Linked DNA regions of Homo sapiens: region 2 is linked to region 1. Evidence: promoter capture Hi-C in 16 types of primary human blood cells and fetal thymus (Javierre and others, 2016). All regions are on one chromosome and are shown on one strand. The core of a region is centred on a gene start or on the middle of the fragment in contact, and the rest is flanking DNA. Distances in the headings are between cores, read along the strand shown.

Region 1 (6,259 bases), core at 1,121-3,620:
GTGGAGCTTAATGAATTTTCACGAATTAAACACAGCCATGTAACTCACACCCAGACCAATAAACATTAACTGCATCCAAAGAAACCTCTTTAGTCTCCCCCTGCCGCCTTTTTTTTTTTTTTTTTTTTTTTTTTTTCTGGAGACAGGGTCTTGCTCTGTCATCCAGGCTGGAGTGCAGTGGTACGATCACAGCTTACCGCAGCCTTGACCTCCCAGGCTCAAGCAATCCTCCCATGTCAGCCTCCCAAGTAGCTGGGACTACAGGTGTCCACCACCATGCCCAGCTACTTTTTGTAATTTTTGTAGAGACTGTTTCGCCATGTTGCCAAGGTTGGTCTTGAACTCCTGGGCTCAAGCGATCCACCAGCCTTGGCCTCCCAAAGTGCTAGGATTACAGGTGTGAGCCACCACACCCAGCCTAATCTCCCTTTCAATCCTCCCCATCTCCCCAGTGGAAATCACTATTCTGAGTCCTAACAACACAGCTTAATTTTGCTTGATTGTGTAGTTAATATAAATGAAATCATATTATATACTATTTTGTGTCTCACTTCTTTTACTCAACAATATGTTTAAGATTTATTCATATTATTGCATTCACAATACTGAAAGATTAAGGTAAAATGTTTCAAAAGGTGGAGGCTGGGGGGAGAGTGGGAACAGGTCTTTCAGTCAAGAAGAAGAAAAGACATGGGGGAAATAAGCTACACCAAACAGCAACATTTTAAAATTTCCCGTTCTATTTGGGTTCTTAGATGGTTCTAATTATTTTTAGTTACCAATAACCTCAGGGAAGGAATGAGTGTCAGGAAAGAAATGTCGGGCAGGGAATCTAGGAAAAAACAAATAATAATTGCCCCTATGGAGTGTGGTTATTAGCAGGCATTGCAGAGAGAGCCCAGTGTAACATGGGGCAAATTATTTAATCTAGCTGGCAATTGTTTTCCCAATCCGTAAAGTGAGAATAGTAACATCGTTGCTGTCAAGATTAGATAAATGAATGTAAAATGCATGGTACTGTCCCTGACTCTTTAATGCACAGCAAACATTATTTGCTTTCTATCCCCTTCCTTGTTGAATACAGATCAGAACTCCAGTAGCTGGAAACTAAGCAGTGTCATATTTCCCTAGCCTTACGCCGCTAGGCCCCTTAAATTTAAAATATAAAGTATACAACAGGTTTGGGGTACAGATTTTGAGAAATTTAAAAAAAAATTTTTTTTTGAGACAGAGTCTCCCTCTGTCACCCAGGCTGGAATGCAGTGGCATGATCTCAGCCCATTACAACCTCCGCCTCCCGGGTTCAAGCGATTCTCCTGCCTCAGCCTCCCGAGTAGCTGGGATTACAGGAGCCCGCCACCACGCCCGGCTAATTTTTTGTATTTTTAGTAGAGACAGGGTTTCACCATGTTGGTCAGGCTGGTCTTGAACTCCTGACCTCAAGAGATCCGCCCGCCTTGGCCTCCCAAAGTGCTGGGATTACAGGCGTGAGCCACCGAACCGGGCTGAGAAATAAAATCTGAGAATAAGTGTAATGTAACCCACTAGTGTCCTCTACATTTGAAAGTCAACTTTTCAATAATCCCTGAAGAACCACCTGAAAGGCATTGCTTCGCTAGGGCGATGATGCCCGATCGCCATTTTACTCATCCAATCCTACTGGTTTACCCAGGCCCCATAAGCCTCACCAGATCCCTCTTGCCTCTGCACATCTCCAATCTCCATAAAGACCTTTGATCGGATCTATCATTGTACCTATCATAGGTCTGATGCCCCTATCAAGACTTGGAGTTTTCCTAAACGCCCATGTCTTTCACATCACATCTCTCAACTCATAGCATTGCCGTACCCTGAGAAATAAATGAAGCTGGTACAAATTTTCTCTGAAAACTTGGAAGCCTGGCGCTGAACTCAACAACTTTAGCTTAGTCCGCAAAAATGGACTTAGCTAATACTGTGTTAGGCATAATGGTGCTGTTTTAACGGCTTTGACATCCAATTATTCTTTCACCAAGCCATTAACCAGAGCCAAGTTTGCCCTAGGCTGGGCAAAGGAATGCTGTGAAGTGAAACCTGGGCTGTAACCGCCTCCGAGGCCGGCTCACACCCAGGGACCCTCCCAAGCGGTTCCTGCGCCCCCTCGTGGCCTCCCTCCTGCAGTTCGCTGCACAAGCGCAGGGCCCGGAGCGGGGACGGGCGGGCCCTCCAGGCCCTCGACACACCCAATTGGCCAGGCCTCGTTGCGTGTGGGCGGGGCCGCGGCTGGAGCGGAGGAGCCCCCCAGAAGACCGCCTTCAGGGGGCGTGGCCTGGACTGTGGAGGGGGCGGACCGTGGGGAAGCTGCTTCCGGGTGAGCCCCCCCCGCTCTTACGCGGTCTGTGGGAGACCGGAGCGGGAGACAGCGGTGACAGGAGCAGCGGCCGGGAGCCCTTAGGGAGGCAGGTGAGCGGGGGCTGGATGCGGGGAGATAGCGGGCCTGGAGGGCGGCTCCAGGGCGAGGCGGGGACTGTGGCACCAAGAGTCCTGCGTCCCCAGATTGTGCTGTGCGCCTGAAGCCCTGGCGGTGCAGCCGTGCACGGAGTCCCGTGGAGCGTTTGTTTGGGCTGGATTATCCCGCTGCAGCCGAGGTTGGGGGCCCGGGTTCGGGGCTCCGCACCTCTTCTCTGGGGTTCACCCTCTCGGATACCGCCTGGGCAGACTCCATCGATGCAGAACCCGAGGTGCGGGTGGTGGTTGGTGGGGGGGTAGGGAGGTGAAAACAATAACAGCCGTTTTGTACTAAGCGTTGCGTGCATTGACCATTCATTTATTTTATTTATTTATTTATTTTTGAGACGGAGTTTCGCTCTTGTTGCCCAGGCTGGAGTGCAATGGCGCGATCTCAGCTCACTGCAACCTCCGCCTCCCGGGTTCAAGCGATTCTCCTGCCTCAGCCTGCCAACTAGCTGGGATTACAGGCGTGTGCCACCACGCCTGCTAATTTTTGTATTTTTAGTAGAGATGGGGTTTCTCCCTGTTGGTCAGGCTAGTCTCGAACTCCCGAGCTCAGGTGATTCGCCCACCTCGGCCTCCCAAAGTGCTGGGATTACAGGCGTGAGCCACCACGCCCGGCCTGACCCATTCATTTCTTACAACAACCCATTGAGGTCGGTTCTAGTCCCCATTTACTAAACGAAGAAACTGAGGTCACACAACTAGAAAGCTACAGAACTAGGATTTGTACCCACATCTATCAGACTCCAGAGCCCACATACTTAACCATCCTGCTACCAACAGCAGCCAGGCCCAGAGTCTGGCTCACCCAAAGCTCTCCACAAGCCCAACCTGCTGGGAAACAGATTTGATATCTATCCTTAAAGTATGGAGGTGTCATGGTGGGCACTGAGGACTGGGCTGCTGGAGACCTTCCCCCAGATCTGCCGCTGACCCACTGCGTGATCCTGGGCCTGTGTCTACCCCTCTCTGAGCCCAGTTTCACCCTTGTTTCAGTGATACAATCAGCAAACTTTAAGAAGACTCTTAGCCAAGATATTCTAGGATTCTGGGAATGGCAGCTTCTCCTACGTCTAAATGGCTAACCCCAGAGGCGATCAGGCTCTTCAAAGCCCCAGGGCAAGGCTGGGGTCTCATTCTTCTCTTTAATCCCTGTGTCTAGCACTTCAGCAGGCCCATAGTAGATATTCAAGAAATGTGGGTTGGCTGAATAAACACTTCATCTCTTTTCAGAACTGCATGACAGCTGCTCTCCTGGGCCTTTGTGGGGCTTTGGATTTCTCAGTTCTGGCCACCTTCTATCTAGCTGGCTCTCCTGACTGCCTCCTCCCTGGCCAGTGGCAGAGCCTGCCAGGGCTGGCAGCAGGTCCTAAGCCTCTGTGCGAAGACCCACAGCCTCTGGAATCCTCAGCATAGTACAACTTGCAGGGGTGGGGGGTGGCACATGAAGCTCATAGCCCCTCCTGGTAGCAGTGCTCAGGGCCCAACTTCAGTTACTCCCAGTTTGGGGATGTTGCCTTCCATGGGAGGAGATACTTTCATATTAAATCTGAAACACTTCTTATCCTTCACTGTCCCCTCTTCCATGAAACCACCCTTGACTCAGAGACACAGTCCCTCTGACAGCACCTGGTCCACCCCTCTACTCTGGCAGCCCGGTGGTGATTATTTTGTTTTTCCTCCACCACATAACCTGCTGGAAGGCAGGGACTCCACTTCAGAAATCTTGGAAAACCCTGTGGCCCACAAGGGTTTGAGCTCATATTCCCATCTGGTGAGGTGCAGAAGGCACAGAGCTGTGCCAGGACATCTCGTTCCAACCCAGCCCCACTCCTAATAGTAATAAAAGTAGCTACATGTTTACTGTGCAGCTACTTGGTGCCAGACACCTACCTTATCCCTATCAATAATCTCCACAGCCTTGCAAGTTAGAGATATCATGCCTATTTTGTAGATTATGAAATGAACACTGAAAGGTCAATTACTTTGCCCAAAATTACACAGCAGAGCATAGACCAAACCTGGGACTGTCTGACCCTGAAACATGGATCTTTCTGCACCGCCCTATACTCTGCGTCCCAGCAAAGCTAACCTGTCTGATGTGGTTGGGCAGAGGTGCTGGACCTCCTGGCGGCTCGCTCCTGTCTTCAGTGTGGTAATGTCACAGGCATTTAAATTGTGGTTTGCAAGCTCGCTTGATTTGGGAGAAGTGCCCTCCCAGTCTGTGAAATTCTCCCAAACTCTAAGGGCCTTTTTGCAAAGCAAAACCCACCCTGCATTTGGCTCTGCCAATATGTGATTCAGGGGGTGTTTTCCCACTCACAGAATGGAGTGGGAAACTCCACTTATTAAGTACCTCTTACAATGGAATGACTCTATGGTGTAGGTATCAGGGCACTGAAATAGAAGCCAGGAGCTGCAGGGTCAGTTTATAGCTCTGTATGTCACTCACTGTGATCTCCAAAAGTCCCGTTGCCTCTTTATACCCCATTTTCCACATTAAAGTGTAAGGGATTAAACAGGATTGGCAATTTTCAAGCTTTTAATATTTTCAGCACTGACAGCCGTTTCTCAAATCAAATCTGTCTCTGAATCTTAAAATTCAAAAACAGATCAAAGTGGACTGCTGTAGTGAGACTGTTCCCTTTACTCTAACCCTGCCCCGGTCTCAGGCTCCTAGGCAGTCCTGCCCCAGGGTTTCTGCTAAGCAGGAGCCAGTTGTTCCCTCAGCCTCCTAAAAGCGATGGGGAGTTGAGGCCAGTGGAATGCAGCTTTGGATTCAGAAGCCAGAAAACAACAGAGATTGTTTGTGGGAAGTGAGTCAGAGAGATTAGACCTCTCTTCAACATCTGACTAGACTCTAGAATGGCATTAAGCAAGTCACTGAACCGCTCAGAGCCTCTGTTTCCTTATCACTAAAAGTTAGGACAATTCTTGCAATGAAATGAGATACTACTACCAAGTACTTCAGTGCTGTGCCCAGCACAGAACGAATACACTCAGTATGTTTTTCTTTTGTTTCTTCTGTCTCTCCAGCACCCAAAGCAGAAACAGTATGGGCAGAGAGACGCCTACTGAATCAGGTGTTTATCAGTATTATGAAATACAGTATATAAAACCCAGCATTTGGAGTCCAGAACAAATTCAAATTCTGGCTCAGTCACTAAGTAGCTATGTGGTCTTGGGCAACTGGCTTACATTTTGGTAATTCTCTCAATATGCAAAAATATTCTCTCGGCCAGGTGCGGTGGCTCACGCCTGTAATCCCAGCACTTTGGGAGGCAGAGGCGGGCGGATCACTTGAAGTCAGGAGTTTGAGACCAGCCTGGCCAACATGGCGAAACCCTGTCTCTACTAAAAATACAAAAATTAGCCAAGCATGGTCATGCATGCCTGTAGTCCCATCTATTTGGGAGGCTGAGGCAGGAGAATCACTTGAACCCAGGAGGTGGAGGTTGCAGTGAGCCGAGATCGAACCACTGCACTCCAGCTTGGGTGACAGAGCCAGACTCTGTCTCAAAAAAAAAAAAAAAAAAAAAAGAAAAGGAAAAAAAACTCCTGGCAGACATGAGAGCAAAATCGAGTACGAAATGGGCAGCTGGGACCTCATATCTACTGAATAATTGTCTGTTTGGAGGTTGAGACATGACTGGGGAGGCCTGGCCTGCCCCTGTGTTAGGTGATGGGGCTGGCCCACCCAGGGGTGTGGCAGCAGGGCTGGCCCCTGTGTGACTTGTGATAACCCCACCCTACCAAGGAGGAAGAC
Region 2 (6,259 bases), core at 455-2,954, 140 kb after region 1:
TGTCCTCAGGTGATCCAGCCTGCCTTGGCCCCCCAAAGTGCTGGGATTACAGGCATGGGCCACTGTGTCCGGCCCTGGACCTTATTTTCTAATGTTAAGTTTGAGTTCTGGGTTTAGTTGGGCAAGAATTTCCCTCAGCTGCCATCAATCCTGGCTGAAGTTAACCCCTTTCCATCACTGACCCAGGGGAAAAAACCACCAAATTTACTTACTATCTGTTAAAAATTCAAAAAGGAAGCAGATGATCAAGTCATTGAACAAAAAGCTACATGGATTAGACAAGAACATATAACTTGGCTCTAAGATGATGGAGAAGGAAAAGACATCTCATGGGTGGCTTCTCCTTAAGAGAAATGGGAATCTCAGCTTATTAGAAAAAACAATTTGGGAGGTTACTACTTTAGTTCAGAGACTGTAAACTAAACCTCTGTTGAGCAGGGGTGTGTGTGTGTGTGTGTGTGTGTGTGTGTGTACGTGCACAAAGAGGAGCAAGAAGGGATGATTGGAGCAGGAATCACGTCTTCAAGTCTTCAACAACTTCCCACTGCAATCGATAAGGCCACGCCATAGAGTTTGATGTCAATGGCAATGCTCTGTGATATCCACTACCACTGCCTTCTTCCAGCTGAAGAGGAAGTATCCTGTACCGGCCCCTGCTGCTACTGCAATGCAGAGGTACCCGTTGTAGGTCATGAAGATGAGCATGAGGAAGTAGCTTATGACCACCTGGATGATGTGCAGCACTGTTTGCAGGAGGTGAGGAAAGCTCAGCATCTGTTGCCTGGAGAGTAAACAGGGACACAACAATCAGGGACTCCTAGGAGTTCTGCAGATCAGGAGAAAGAGGGAAGAGTTCTTGCCATGAGCTCAGCTGGAACTGGACAGCCACTCTGGCAACTCATGGGTACTTGAATGTTCTTTGATTGGTCCATGGAAATGAAACAGCACAGGGCTGTCAGGCTTATAAACATTGGCCAGATATGGCTGTGGTTCCTCCAGTAGAAGGAACCCTTTTCCGGAGGAGGAGAAAAGGACGAGGAGTAATCCCGACTTACCTCCACCTTAGATCCTGAAAGGGAAGCCGTAAACCCTCTCACGCTCATCTGCCCGAATATTTTTAGGCTTCCCACCTTTGCAAAGTTTACATTCTACAAAAACAGAAACAGAGGCTGGGGGTGGTGGCTAATGCCTTTAATCCCAGCACTTTGGGAGGCCGAGGTGGGCTGATTGCTTGAGCTCAGGAGTTTCAGACCAGCCTGGGCAACATGGCGAAACCTTGTCTCTACAAAAAATAAAAAAAATTAGCTGGGTGTGGTGGCTCATGCCTGTAGTTCCAGCTACTTAGGAGGCTGAGGTGGGAGGATCACTTGAGTCTGGAAGGCAGAGATTGCAGTGAGCCAAGATAGTGCCACTGCACTTCAGCCTGGGCAATAGAGGGAGACCCTGTCTCCAGAAAAAAAAAAAAAAAAGAAAGAAAAAAAGAAAAAAAAATAGAATTGAGGGTTGGGTAGTATAGAAGAAATTACTTAATTAGGGATAAGGAGACCTGGCTACTCATCCCCTGTGCCACCTTAGGTAGGTCACAATCCTTCTGGGCCCCAGTAAGCTCATCAGTACAATAAATAACACTGCTTGTTTGAAAGCAGGATATCAGTCTATAGGATTTCTTAAGGTCCAATTTGGTTTTAAGACTTACATTTTTATTAAAACAATCTCAAAAAACATTTGCCAATCTATGGGAAAAACCAATAATCATCCAAATACTTTCTTAGACAGAACACAGAAATCAATACAGTCTTACATTGTAAAGAAAAAGAGGACAGGGCTGACTAGGTGTAACTTTATAGAATCAACTGCAATCTGCCATTCTTTTATATCTTGATCTGAATTTCTTAACTTGTTCATTATTATTTTGGTAAATATTTTAAAATATGGATTCCTCACTTCCCTTCTTCCAAAGTGGCCAATCCGTACAACTCAGAACAAACATTCATATTTGCAGAAGACTCCCTCTCATTCCTCCTTTGGCCTGCTCATGACCTACAAACCCAAACCTCCAAGGACAGTTTTGATCAAGGTCATACAGAACTCCTAACTCAAGAAGAGGGCTGCTGCTGATCACACAGCTGCGCTTTGCTGCTTAACTGATCGAGTTCTTTAGGACTTCATCTGGATCTGTTCAGTTCTTACCCAACAGTTTTGTGTGTCTCCATAAGGATGGTTCCATTTGGTCCTGGGACAGGCATGGAATTGTAGCGAATGCTGACTTGTGACTTACGCAGCAGGCTCTCTCGGGCTATCTTGAGTCCTTCATAGAACATTGCTAGTAAAAACACTGCCACAAAAGCTCCAGCCATTTCTAAGTATGGAAGGAAAATATGGAGGTACTGTCAAACATGTGCAAAATCATTAGCCAATGTGCTGTCCAGCTAGAAAGACACATAGAAAAAATGCTACTCTCAGCTTTTGAAGACATTATATTTTTACCTCTTCTCTTGCTCAGATAGGAGAACGGCTAAGATGGTGTAACTGAAAACTATTGCCTCTGCCAAGAACATATTTACTTTCTGATTAAGATAAGAAAAATAATCAGAACAACAATAACCTTTTGGTCAGACTGCTTGATATCATTAAATTAGGTTTGTTACACTGAAACACACAATGTAGAATATGGAACAGGGAATAAAACAATTTAGTTTCATCAGTGGCTGACTACATTTCCTGAATAGGCATTTCAATTCTAAGTCTTTCACACTGTGAAGTGTTGGTAATGATATAAATGTATTCAAACTGCTAATTTAACACATTACCTGAACTAAATGCTCTCCTTCTTCCCAAAACAAATTGATTTTATGGCTCCAAACAGACATCTGGTACCTAAGGCAGTCCAACTGACTATTGAGTTTGCGCAAGTTAAATTTAAAGTATACCATACAACATAATAGACACAAACAGATGGGTAATCATCTACCTCAAAACTAGGAGTGTCTAAGATGGGCCGTGCCAAGAATCAGGAAGGATGTGGGCCATAGTTTGGTAGACTAAAAGAACACTGGTCTAGGTAGCTCTAGAAGGTCTGGGTCCTTGTCCTAGCTCTGACATATTAACTCTATGATTGATGGCGAGTCATTTCACAATTTGTGGCACTTAATTTATTGTAAAATTGAAGTATTAGAACAATAGTTTTAAACTTATTTTGTGGTACTTAATTTGAGTTAGTCTTATGTCCAGGACTAATAACTTATCAAATAAGTAAACACTCTGAGGCCGGGCATGGTGGCTCATGCCTGTAATCCCAGCACTTTGGGAGGCTGAGGTGGGTGGATCACTTGAGGTGAGGAGTTCGAGACCAGCCTGGCAAACATGGCAAAACCCCGTCTCTATTAAAAATACAAAAATTAGCCAGGCATGGCGGTAGGTGCCTGTTTAACTCCAGCTACTCAGGAGGCTGAGGCAGGAGAATCGCTTGAACCTGGGAGGCAGAGATTGCAGTGAGCCAAGATAGCTGCCATTGCACTCCAGCCTGGGTGACAAGAGTGAAACTCCGTCTCAAAAAAAAAAAAAAAAAAAAAAATTAAACACTCTGGAAAAGAATGAAAGAAAATGGATTGCAAAAGATTCTATCTGGTATCTAAATTATTTTTTAGAGCTCCAAAACATACATGTTAGTTAACAGAGGTTTACCAGAGGACCAAAAAAGTACTGTGTTTCCTACCTTCTAGGTAGGAAATAGGAACCAAGATGGTTATGCATCATTACCATGTTGACTTAGTAATTAGGACAGAAAGAGGTGCTGGACTTCCAAATTATTTGTCACTGTCTCTCATGTGACTATCACCTTCCAACACTACCTAATGGCTTACTCACCTCCAGCTGTATTGATCACCAAACCGGAAAACAGTAGTTCCACATTCTTAAAGCCAAAGTAGAAGGTCATAGGCTGCCAGAAAACCAAAACAAGTCAGTTAGAGATGAATGAAAATTCTAAATGAGAATTTGGGGCAAAGAAGCTTAGAACATTTAAAAGTAGAAGATCTGGATAATAAGAGACATTCACGTGAGTGGGAGGCTTTTGCCCTCATGTTAGCGTTACCACCACAGGCACCGAGCATGAGTATTCTACTAGGCCCCCACCATCAACTTTTCTCCTGGGCCCCCACCATCAACTTTTATCTTTTTTTTTTTTTTTTTTGATACGGATTCTCGCTCTGTAGCCCAGGCTGGAATGCAGTGGCGAGATCTCGGCTCACTACAACCTCCACCTCCTGGGTTCAAGCGATTCTCCTGCCTCAGCCTCCCAAGTAGCTGGGACTACAGGCGAATGCCATCATGCCCAGCTAATTTTTTGTATTTTTAGTAGAGATGGGGTTTCACCGTGTTAGCTAGGATGGTCTCGATCTCCTGACCTTGTGATCCACCTGCCTTGGCCTCCCAAAGTGTTGGGATTACAGGCATGAGCCACTGTGCCTGGCCAACTTTTGTCTTTTTCTCTTTTCCACCCAAGGCATAAAGACCAGAACCCCTAATTCAGAAAAGAGTCGATTTCAGAAGGGACCACCAAAGAAAGAAGCCTAAAATCTTGGTTCTGGTGTGACTCTGTAAGTAGCTTGCCACATAATCTGGAGCAAATGACTTGACTTGCTTGGGTCTGCTTTAGTTATCCTCACTGGTAAACTGACCTTTAAAGATAATAAGCTTCCAGTACTAAAATTCCATTATTTCTATTACCCAAGTGGGTGGGAAAGGGCCTGCATTGCCCCTCCTATGGCACTCACCATCATCATCATGCTGCTGTCTCCTCCACCATGGGAGTGTGAGGCTGAAGTGGTTGGGTGATGGTGAGAAGGTTGCATGGTACTGTTGGAGTCCATATAGCTCATCCCCATATGGTGGGAATGATCCATTTTTTCCAGGAAAAGTTGAGAGTCAGCAGAAGATTCTTTTAAGAGAAAGAATTATATATAATAATTTAAGGATATAAAAATCTTATCTCTTTTTTTTATTTTTAGAGATGGAATCTTGCTATGTTGCCCAGGCTGGAATGCAATGGCTATTCACAGGCATGATCCCACTACTGATCAGTACAGGAGTTTTGACCTGCTCCATTTCTGATCTAGGCTGGTTCACCAGGCAACCTGGTGGTTCCCTGCTCCTGGGCTTGTTTCTTGGTAAATACTTTGTCTATATGGAATGCATCTAATAAATGAATGCTCTCCTAGCATCTTTACTCAGAATTATTTTTCATAATCTACAGATGGAGAGAGAAAGAACTCGTGCTAATAGGGATCACTTTTGGAGACTGTAGCAGAAAGGGTTTACACGTAGGGCTACAGATGCCTAACCCTTCCTTATTCTGCAGAATTGTTCCTTTTTTTTTGAGACAGGGTCTTGCTCCATCACCCAGGCTGGAGTGCAACTCACCACAGCCTCAACCTCAGCCTCCTGAGTAGGTGGAATCACAGGCCTGCACCACTACCACGCTCAGCTAATTTTTTGTTTTATCGTACAGATGAGGTCTCGTGTTGCCCAGGCAGGTCTCGAACTCCTGAGCTCAAGCAATCCTCTTGCCTTGGCCTCCCAAAGTGTTGGGATTACAGGTGTAAGCCACTGTGCCCCACCAGTATAGTTCCTTTAATAGGTATGCTTAATATATGTTCAAACTTAAATATTAGATAAGGAGAAGGAAAGCAGCTTCTTTGGGTTGCAGGAAACAGGCAATCTGTAATAAGATACAAATGAATGCCATTAATGAAATTTAACTGCTTTAAGGCTTTCTAATCATAAATGTCAGCAGATAAAAAGCAAGGACTTCAGATAATTCACCTAATTGGGATGGCCTGTGCCTAATCAGGATATTTGGATTACATTTTCACATACAGGACAACCAGCCTTCAGCTAATTTAAATTTGAAGAAAGGTCTACTATGGCCCTAGGCACGCAGTGTGCTCAGACTTCAGATACAATTTCAATCCTACCAGGACATTAGAGTGAAGAACATGAAAAACAAGGTATAAATTGGATACTCTATATTAAATTAAGTCTAGACAACTGCAAATTCAGCCTTGTATCTTTACTACCACATCACTGTATTGCTGCAAAAGTCCATCTGGGACATAAACCAAGGAGCAATAATTCCTTTTATTTATTTATTTTTGAGACAGAGTTTTGCATGGTTGCCCAGGCTGGAGTGCAGTGGTGTGATCTCGGCTCACTGCAACCTCTGCCTCCTGGATTCAAGTGACTCTCATGCCTCAGCTTG

Evidence for each region. Contacts are between HindIII fragments. The CHiCAGO score rates a contact against its expected background, and 5 or more counts as called.
Region 2: a contact is called between a fragment that was not itself captured here and the fragment with the promoter of ALAD in region 1, in 2 of 17 cell types (erythroblasts and M2 macrophages). The highest score is 6.0, in erythroblasts.

Annotation. Positions count from the first base shown.
Region 1 is chr9:113,397,395-113,403,653 of GRCh38, reverse strand. ALAD (aminolevulinate dehydratase) reads left to right here and starts at 2,370. Exons shown (of 12, transcript NM_000031.6): 1 at 2,370-2,442. RefSeq lists silencers at 2,059-2,418, 2,569-2,618 and an enhancer at 2,634-3,214. The HindIII fragment of the contact is 5,410 bases long and covers 1-5,034 here.
Region 2 is chr9:113,254,794-113,261,052 of GRCh38, reverse strand. It overlaps SLC31A1 (solute carrier family 31 member 1), which reads right to left. Exons shown (of 5, transcript NM_001859.4): 2 at 4,776-4,939; 3 at 3,868-3,940; 4 at 2,191-2,359; 5 at 1-781. The coding sequence starts at 4,904. The coding sequence ends at 580. LOC107987119 (a long non-coding RNA gene) reads left to right here and starts at 4,450. Exons shown (of 3, transcript XR_007061737.1): 1 at 4,450-4,598. The HindIII fragment of the contact is 4,617 bases long and covers 1-4,012 here.